Linked DNA regions of Homo sapiens: region 1 is linked to region 2. Evidence: promoter capture Hi-C in human tissues and cell types (Jung and others, 2019). All regions are on one chromosome and are shown on one strand. Each heading gives the region's core, a stretch centred on a gene start or on the middle of the fragment in contact. The rest is flanking DNA. Distances are from core to core; before and after follow the strand shown.

Region 1 (4,346 bases), core at 1,363-3,862, 86 kb before region 2:
ATTTGCAAACCCCCTGTCTGCAAGGCCACTCTCACCCCTGGTGTTCTGATTTTGTCAGCACCCCAGATGATGAGGCATGCCCCAGTCTGTGCAGCATCTCAGCAGCTGAAGCACAGAATTCAGGCAGTCAGGAGAAGGAGAGGCCGCTCTCTGGAACAGTGCCAAGGTGGTGCTGCACTGATGCTGGAGAGTCCTGGGCTCTTACCCTAGAAGGATCGGCCTTCAGAACCACAAATTCCCCCCGACCACCGCCCCAGCAGCTTTTCCTTATCTTACCCAGGAATGGAGCACCTGGCTGGAAAGGGTATCTTTTGGGTTAAGATGTCAAGGCATTGGACTCAGAGTCCAAAAGCAACAGCCGGAAAAGCAGAGGCCTGGAAGGTGGCCCTTGTGACAATTGACATCCCCCACACAAATACACAGTAACCTCTCTTCAGCCCTCCCTCCCCTTCATATGTCTCTCTTGAGCCAGAAGCCCGTGTAGGAAGTAACTGGCTCTCTCCCGGCCTGTTCCAGGCAATGCTAACTCATGAAATCAAACCCATGAACCAGAAAGGAGGGCCAGCATATCTGTTTTCTTCCTCCTGCCTCACCTGGGCAAATGGTTTAGGCAGTGGAAGGAGAAAGCAAGAGCTACATGTTCTGGAGACTGGGGGTGCCACTGGCAAGGAAATGTCTGCTGCCGCCTCACCCATCCTCATATTTTCCTTTGCCCATATCAGGTTCGACATCCTGGACCAGGAGATGAAGACCTTGATGACTCAGATTGATGGTGTGAACCTCGCTGCCAACAGCTTGGTAGAGAGTGGCCACCCACGCAGCAGGGAGGTGAAGCAGTACCAGGACCATCTGAACACCAGGTGGGGTGTGGGTAGGGCATGGGGCGGGGGCATTGTCTCTCAACATCTGACACACTGCTGGGGGCCGGGCCCAAAATTTAGTCCACCTAGTATGCACCAACACTTCTATACCCTCAACATTCCTGTCTTTTTTTTTTTTTTTTTTTTTTTTTTGACACAGAACCTCACTCTTTTACCCAGGCTGGAGTGCAGTGGTGCGATCTCGGCTCACTGCAACTTCCACCTCCTGGGTTCAAGCTATTCTTGTTCCTCAGCCTCCCAAGTAGCTGGGATTACAGGCGTGCGATACAATGCCTGGCTAGTTTTTGTATTTTTAGTAGAGATGTGGTTTCACCACGTTGGCCAGGCTGGTCTCATTCCTGGCCTCAAGCGATCTGCCCACCTCGGCCTCCCAAAGTGCTGGGATTACAGGCATAAGCCACCGCGCCCCCACCGACATTCCTGTCTGTCTCAGCCACAGTCCCCTTCCCAGTAGTACTGGAACTATAGCAGCAAGGAGGAATGATTGAGGTGGTGAACAGCCCAGGGAGGGAGAGAGACGAGTCCTGGGAGGCTCGAATGCTGTGCCTGGGGAGGGTGGGTGTGTATGTGTGATGGAGGGCACATCCCAAGTGTGCCCAAACTTAGAATCAGGCCATATGCTTCTCATGCTATATTTCCCTGGACATTCTTGGGCAGAGAAAATTGCTTTCTGAGAGCTCTTAAGTACTGTCCATAAAATAATGCTCCTGCCTCTGCCAAATGCAGTATCGATAATGAGGCTGGCTTGAAGGAAGAGGAGAATTAGCAGGGAGCCTTAAGCAAGCTTTGTGGCCAGAACAAAAAATAGGCCCCAAGGAGCCTTTAGAGAGGGGGTGCTTTCAGTGTGGGGTGAAATTGCCCATGAGTTCCTGGAGGATCTTTGAGGACACCGCAAATGCCTGCATTCCCTGTCTTTACCGTGGGCCCTGCACATGCAATGCCACATGTTCACCACCTCCCCATTACCCCAGCCCCTTCCCCACACCTGTGCCTGAGCGTTGCTCTGCCTGAGGCAATCTGGGAGGTGGGCCTAGGGAAGACTCCATTGTAAAGAAAGGGATCGGCACAGTGGAGAGTTCACTGGGGGGCTAAGGGGAGGCAGCGATGACCAGAATTCTTTAGAGCCACTAGAATGGGATGATTGTCTTAGCAGCCCAAGCTGCAGAGTGCGGTTTAGGAGATTCCTTTGTCAATCTGATGTTTTACAAAGGAAGAGAATACCTCTTCCCTCTTCTTTCGCCTTGTAGGTAATGAGTTTGTGTGTGTTGGTGGGCAGGAGGTGGTAGAGATTATTGCAATTGCTGCATAATTGAGGAAACTAGAGCAGGTCTAAACCAGAGAAACTTCCTGAGAGGAAGAACTCATCAGCTCAACAATAAACTATAGTCTGAGAATGTTGATCTTTACAGACCCCTAAAACAGGCCCCATCCCCAAGAGAAAAATATCAAGGTACCTGCCATCCTTAAGTGAGAAAAAAACCCGAGGCATGAAATTAAATTTGAGAGTTGAAAGGAACCTGAGAAGTCACCCAGTCTAGCCAGTGATGGGGAACTCACTCCCTCACCCGGCAGCCTATCTCATTTTTGGGCAATTCTTTTTGGTTAAAAAGTTTGCTCTTCCATTGAGTGGAAATCTGCCTCCTTGAAATGCGTACATATTGATTCTGGCTCTGCCCTTGAGAGATATCACACTTACCCTGGTTCCTCTTCCGTGTATAGCTCTTCAATTATTTTTCAGAACAATGCTCATTCTATACCTCCACCCCCAGTGTCGCCTCATGCCTCTGCGGTTCTTTCCCTCAGGGTGCATTCTCCCTCCCTCTACATATTCCAAATCCTGTCTCTGCATGAGCCAGTCCAAGTCGCTTGCTTTCCAGTTTTCCAGATGAAAAGCAATCTTTTCCTCCTTTGTACTGGTTTTGAGCTTCATATCCTATCTTACATTCTAATTATTTTTGTCCCCAAGGACTTTCCTGCTAGACTATGTAAACAAATGAAGACCTGTATCTATTTATATTGCCCAAGGGCTTTGCACACCTAATACATTTTTGGGGTTCCTGCTGTTTAGAGTATTATTTTCCTAGCTATGCCCTTGGCTTACTCTTTTTATTCAGGTCTCAGCTCAAATGTCAGCTTACTGGCATGGCCCCCGCTGACCGCCCCATGGAAAGCAGCACATCCTTCCTCTCACTGACCCACTTGGCCTCTATATTGTTACCTTCTTTTATTTTTTCTTTGCGCTTATCACCACTTGATGGATTATAGACTTGTTTATGTCTCTATCCACTTGAATGAAAGCAAGGACTTTGCATTACTCTTTATTAATTAATTAATTAATTTTTTATAGAGACAGAATCTCACTCCATTACCCAGGCTGGAGTGCAGTGGTACAATTTTGGCTCACTGCAGCCTCAGCCTCCCAGGCTCAAGTGATTCTCCCATCTCAGTCTCCTGTGTAGCTAATGCTACAGATGCACACTACTATACCCAGCTAATTTTTTGTTTTTTTTGTAGAGATGAGGTCTCACTATGTTTCTCAGGCTGGTCTTGAACTCCTGGGCTCAAGAGATCCTCCGGCCTCAGCCTCCCAAATTGCTGTGATTTACAGGTGTGAGCCACTGAGCCCAGCCTGCATAGTTCTTTGTCATATCCCTAGTGCCTAGGTCAGTGTCTGCCACAAGGCAACTGAGAGTTGCTTGATAAATGCTTAGTACATGAGTGAACTGGGAAAAAACTAAGGTTTTTCTGCCAAGCTTATGTGTGAGTCATTCAAACACTTGATGAATGTGTGATCATCTTTCACCGTATGCTTTCCAGTTGAAGAAAAACCTGGCCCAGGACCAAACCTAGACTCTTGATGTTGCCTGACCAGTGATAACTAGAGTGGCTCTATCAACCTCCTCCATCTCAAAGACAGTGCAGTGGAGGGGGCAAGTGTAGGTTTGGGAAGCAGACTAGACCCAAGCTCCAGTGCATCTTGGTGTGGCCTCCACCCAATGGCTACAGTGAGGCCACTCCAGGAAAGGCCTGGAAAATCACTATGGGGCCTCTTGCCTGGGGACACAGCCAGACCCTCTCCCAGGAACACTTCCCTGTCGATTCCAGGGCTTTCAAACAAACTTGGAGAAAACCCCTTGATTTCCTAGCCTCAGAGCACCATCTGTGTGCCAGACAGGCACGGAATTCCCAGAGCACGGGGTCTTCATGGTCTAGGATGGGAGCCGAGAAATCTGCAGGCTCTCTCTCCTCTCTCGTATCCCTGGTCTCTCCCAGCCTGTCTCTTATATCTCTCTGCAGACCTTTCAAATCATACTGGCTGCTGTTGTCACACCTTGGGAATGCACAACAGCGCTCTCTGTCCAGTCCATCTCCTAGTCCCTCAGCCTCCATCCCCTGAGGCAGGGTACAAAGATGAATGAGACACTTGGTCCCATCCTTTAATTGGTCACTCCAGTGGAGGCACTG
Region 2 (4,238 bases), core at 1,195-3,694:
TGGAGCCTTCACAAGGTTCTGGGAGCTGGGAGAAGAGAACGGGCAAGGCATACCTCTGCAACAGAGGAGCCTTCCCCCTCCAGCCCTGGTCATCCCGCAGGCCGTGGCCTTTGGCCTCTTCCAGCGTAAACAGTGACCGTGGGATAGCTGCGGATTTGGTAAGGCAAATGTTTACTCTGGGGCTGAGATATTAAGACCAGGGTGTTTTAAACATCCAACAATGGCTCCTGGTATCTAACGTCTCCTTGTGGCACACACGTGGGACATAGCCAGCAAATTGTAAAACCCTTGGGAGACTCCCTCCCGAGCCACTGTGAGCCCTTTAGTTTTAACAGGAGTTTATGGAGCACTTTCCACAAATGAGGCTTCCTTTGATCCTCACCACAGCTCCTATGAGGAAGAGCAGGCAAGTAATCCCACTTTATTTATGTGGAAACTGAGTCAGAAAAGATAAGTGAATTGGCCAGATCATGTTGGAGAAAACACAGATCAGACAATGAGGACATCTGACCTCTGGTTTCTACTTGGCCAATAGGGTCTAAGGCTGAAATCACCTCACCCCTCTGGGCTCTGCTGCCTTCACGAGTAAATGAAGTAGGCTAATCCAAGGGGCCCCCCAGCCCAAGTGACTCGCACTCTTCAACTCTACCAATCTTCCATGCTATGCAGAAGAGCCAGGTCTAAAACTCAGGCATAAACCCGTGCTGGACTATCAGGCCAGTGCTCTTTCCACTTCCCCTGCCATGCCACTTCTAATAAAAGGCAGTAGAAAAGCCCCCAAAGCAGCTCTTCAACAAATCACTCCCTCAGCAGCTAGGACTTGGCCTCTGGGTACCTCTTCCCCCAACTTCCTGCCCCATCCCCAGGGCAAGTTACCCAGGGAGCTAATGGGTTGTCCTATCTTCCAGGAAGGGAGTGGAGGACAGCAGGTGTCGAAAGGAGAAGTGAGGCCATTGCATCCAGGGGGCCAGCCCGGAACCACAGGGGAGAGATGTATAACAGAGAGATAAATGTACACTTTTGGTTCTCACTCCCTAGTTTCCTCCTGGGGAACAGCTGGGGTTTAATCACTCAGGATCCCATCCTTGTCCAACAAAGGATGGCCCGGAAAACCACACTGCTGAAGGCGAGGTGGCCGATGTGCTCAACGGGGAGGCCCTCCCCCGCTCCGGACTGTCATTGCCCTCCCTGCTTATTATTTCTTGAGCAAGGGCCATGTGACTGGGCTGCGTGCAGAGGCACGGCTGGGGAGACTCTGGGAACCCCCACTCCAGGGTTCCCCGTAAGGTGAACGCAGTGTGGGTCTCCTGCTGGGGCCCCCAGAGCAGGGGACAGGCACCTACATATGCCAACAGATTAGCGAGTGACCTCGAGGATCAAACTCTTTCGCGGCCTCTAACAACACCCTCCCCAAAAGCCACACCTCTCCAGCCTCCAACCATTCCATTCTCCCCTCCGTTCTTCCTTTTGTGTTCCAAAGGCGCCCCGAAGAGTCAAAGTAGCTATTTAACGCCTTAAAAATTTAAGCTTGCACGCCTTATACTGGCTTTCCAAACCAAAGGGCTGGGTGTAGGGGTGCGAAGAACCAAACCGACTTCAGGAGTGGACGAGGTCGAGGCAGCTGGTGGCCGGGCTTTCCGCTCCCCGCTTCTGGCCCCCACTCTCCTCCCTGCCGGACAGGTAGCCGAGATTCCCAACAGCGAGCACCGTGCGGCGCCAACCCGGAACAGGCTGCAGGCGCCTCCGGGGCTGGCAGGAGCCGAGGCTCGGGTCCTCGCGCAGAAGGGTCCACCCGCCAGGCCCACAGCTCCAGCCAAACACCAGCCCTCGGGCGCGCGCGGCCTCGCGGGCTTCCTGGATTTCAAACTGAGCCTCTCTGGAGCCGCCCGGCGCATTTGCCCCTTTTGTTTCCGGAGTGGAGGGAAAAAAAGACAGAAAAAGTCTCCCCATACGACCCTCCTGCGCTCGCGCACTCTGCGGCAGGGTGGCCCGGGAAGCAGCCAACACAGTTCCAGGCCCTCCTCGGTCGCCCCGGTCCTCACCCCGCAGGGGGCTGGCACGGGGGCCGCGAAGGGACTGGGGCCCCAGCGTGACTGCCGGCACCGCCGCTCAGCCTAATGCAGGGAGATAAGAGGGGAGAGAGGAGAATCAGGGGACACTCACCGAGCGGTAGCTGCCCCGCGGGCTCGGGACGCGCACGGCGTGCGGGGCTGCCCAGGTGCTGCCGCGACGCGGGCGCGAGTTTGAAAGTCGCTCTCTGAAGGGGCTGAGGCCGCCGACCGCTCCCGCCCACCGCCAGCCCCTCAGCTGGCCCGGACTCGGCCAGCTGCAAGCGCGGCCCCCGGAGACCCCAGGCAGCGCGCGGCTTGCCAGCGCCCGGCAGGAAGTCGAGCGGAGCCGGAGCTGCAGCGGGAGGGCAGGAGGGAGCGAGGGAGCGAGGGAGCGAGGGAGCGAGGGAGCGAGGGAGCGAGGGAGCGAGGGAGGGGCGGGCCAGGAATTTTTCCTGTGGGTGGAGACTCCAGCTCGCGGCTGCAGTCCAGCAATTGGCGGCTCTGCGGGGGCCGGGGCAACCTTCGCGGCGCGGCGAGCCAGAGCCGGGGTAAGGCTGCGGCGGCGGCGAGGCCTGGGCGCGGTTAACGATTAACGCCCGCAGGGTGATGAGCGCGCACCCCCGGGCAGCCTAGATGCTCTAGGATACCAAGACGCACGTGGTGGGGTCACCCTGGTGTCACAGACCTGCTATCACCGCCTCCCGAGACAGCATGGACTGCCAGAACGTACCCCTTGTATGGACAGGGAACACCGGGCCCTGCGAAGGGGGCTGAGGGCTTTCCCAAGTGAGTGACCAGCCGGGATCGATCTGGGGATCCTAATCCTACCAGAGCCGGCCGTGTCCGCTTTTCCAAGTCAGAAAGGCATGTCTTGAATTCCTCACCATAACTCGGTCCCTGTGACGCTTTACAGTGGTAAATGCAGACCTCTGAGAAGCTGACGGGAAAGAGATAAAGGAGACAACGTGAAGGCAACTCCACAAGGAACTGTTAAATAGGAAAAATAAAACACAGAAACCTGGATGATAGAGGACCCGTTTTTATAAAACAAAGAGAACCGTTTGTCTTTATGTCTCTGTATATGACCGTGTATGCATGGAAAGGTACACACCTGGAAACTGGGGGGCAAGGGGTGAGGATGGGGGACAGAGACATTCAATACATTTTGAGCAAGAGCATAAATCCAAAAACCCATAATAATTCATCAGTAAAGATCCTGAAGAACAACAAGCCCGGAGGAGGGAAGCCCAGAGTGGGGCTCCGGAAGAGGAACAACGCCCACTGGTTAGGCGCTATCACTAGTTCCTTGGGAGGAGGAATAGGACGCTGATATTAGAACCACGGGGTATATTTGTTATCCAGGTGTACAGCAAACGATTTCTAGAGGTATCATTTAAAACAAAACAAGCGCCCGCCCCAAAATGCTGCTCTGGGCAAATGCAAGCTCCAGGTGATCTACTGGGAGGGGAGAGGCGGGGCAGGCGCGGAAGGAAATGGCTTTCAGGTGACTTTGAAACTGGATCCTGGCGGAGGGTGGGGTGAAGGCAGCGTCCCGGCTCCTGCCTGCGGAGGAAGCGGTAGGCGCTCGGTCTGGCAGGCCCAGAAAGCGGGGCCCACATTCCTTAGGGAGGGAGGGTGTGTTGGAGGCTTGCAGAGCCCCAGACTCGCGGACCGTGAAGGTGAGAGCAGAGATTGCAGAAGAGGGGCTCGGAAATAGATCAACTTAGTTGGGGCTCCGCTAGACCCCGCCGGCCAGGGGAGAAGTGACAAGTCCCCCTTCTGGCCTTCCAGGACTTGTGGTCACCCCTTCCAACCTCAGGCTTTCACCTTTTTTTGTTTATGCTTTCTTATCTGATCACCTGAATCTTACGAATGCCTTCCGGTCCGCTTCAAATTCCAGCTTCCAAAGAAGCCCCCTGACTTAGCCACTTGTGAGCGACCCTTCACTCCTTAGCCAGGACACGTTACAGTGTTAGTGGCAGTCATAACTGTCCTTTAGTGAATGCTTACCATGCAGAGGGCCTGTGCTACACTCTTAACAAACTGTGTCCCTGGATCCTCACAGCCACCTTGCGAGGTAGGAGATATCCTAATCCCCATCTTGCAGACAGAACACTGAGGCTTAGGGGCAAGGAGCAACTTGGCAAAGATTACACAACCAGCAAAAGCAGTGTCGGGCAAGTGCCT

The links. Contacts are between HindIII fragments. The study calls those that stand out against the background at their distance.
Region 1: a contact is called between a fragment that was not itself captured here and the fragment with the promoter of PLEKHG3 in region 2, in 2 of the 25 tissues and cell types used here (H1 embryonic stem cells and thymus).

Annotation. Positions count from the first base shown.
Region 1 is chr14:64,788,233-64,792,578 of GRCh38, reverse strand. It overlaps SPTB (spectrin beta, erythrocytic), which reads left to right. Exons shown (of 36, transcript NM_001355436.2): 15 at 723-860. Among named protein-coding and RNA genes, the nearest start is that of MIR7855, 4.7 kb to the right of the region's middle. The HindIII fragment of the contact is 5,305 bases long and covers 1-4,346 here.
Region 2 is chr14:64,702,630-64,706,867 of GRCh38, reverse strand. PLEKHG3 (pleckstrin homology and RhoGEF domain containing G3) reads right to left here and starts at 2,444. Exons shown (of 17, transcript NM_001308147.2): 1 at 2,164-2,444. RefSeq lists an enhancer at 3,664-4,165. The HindIII fragment of the contact is 6,175 bases long and covers 173-4,238 here.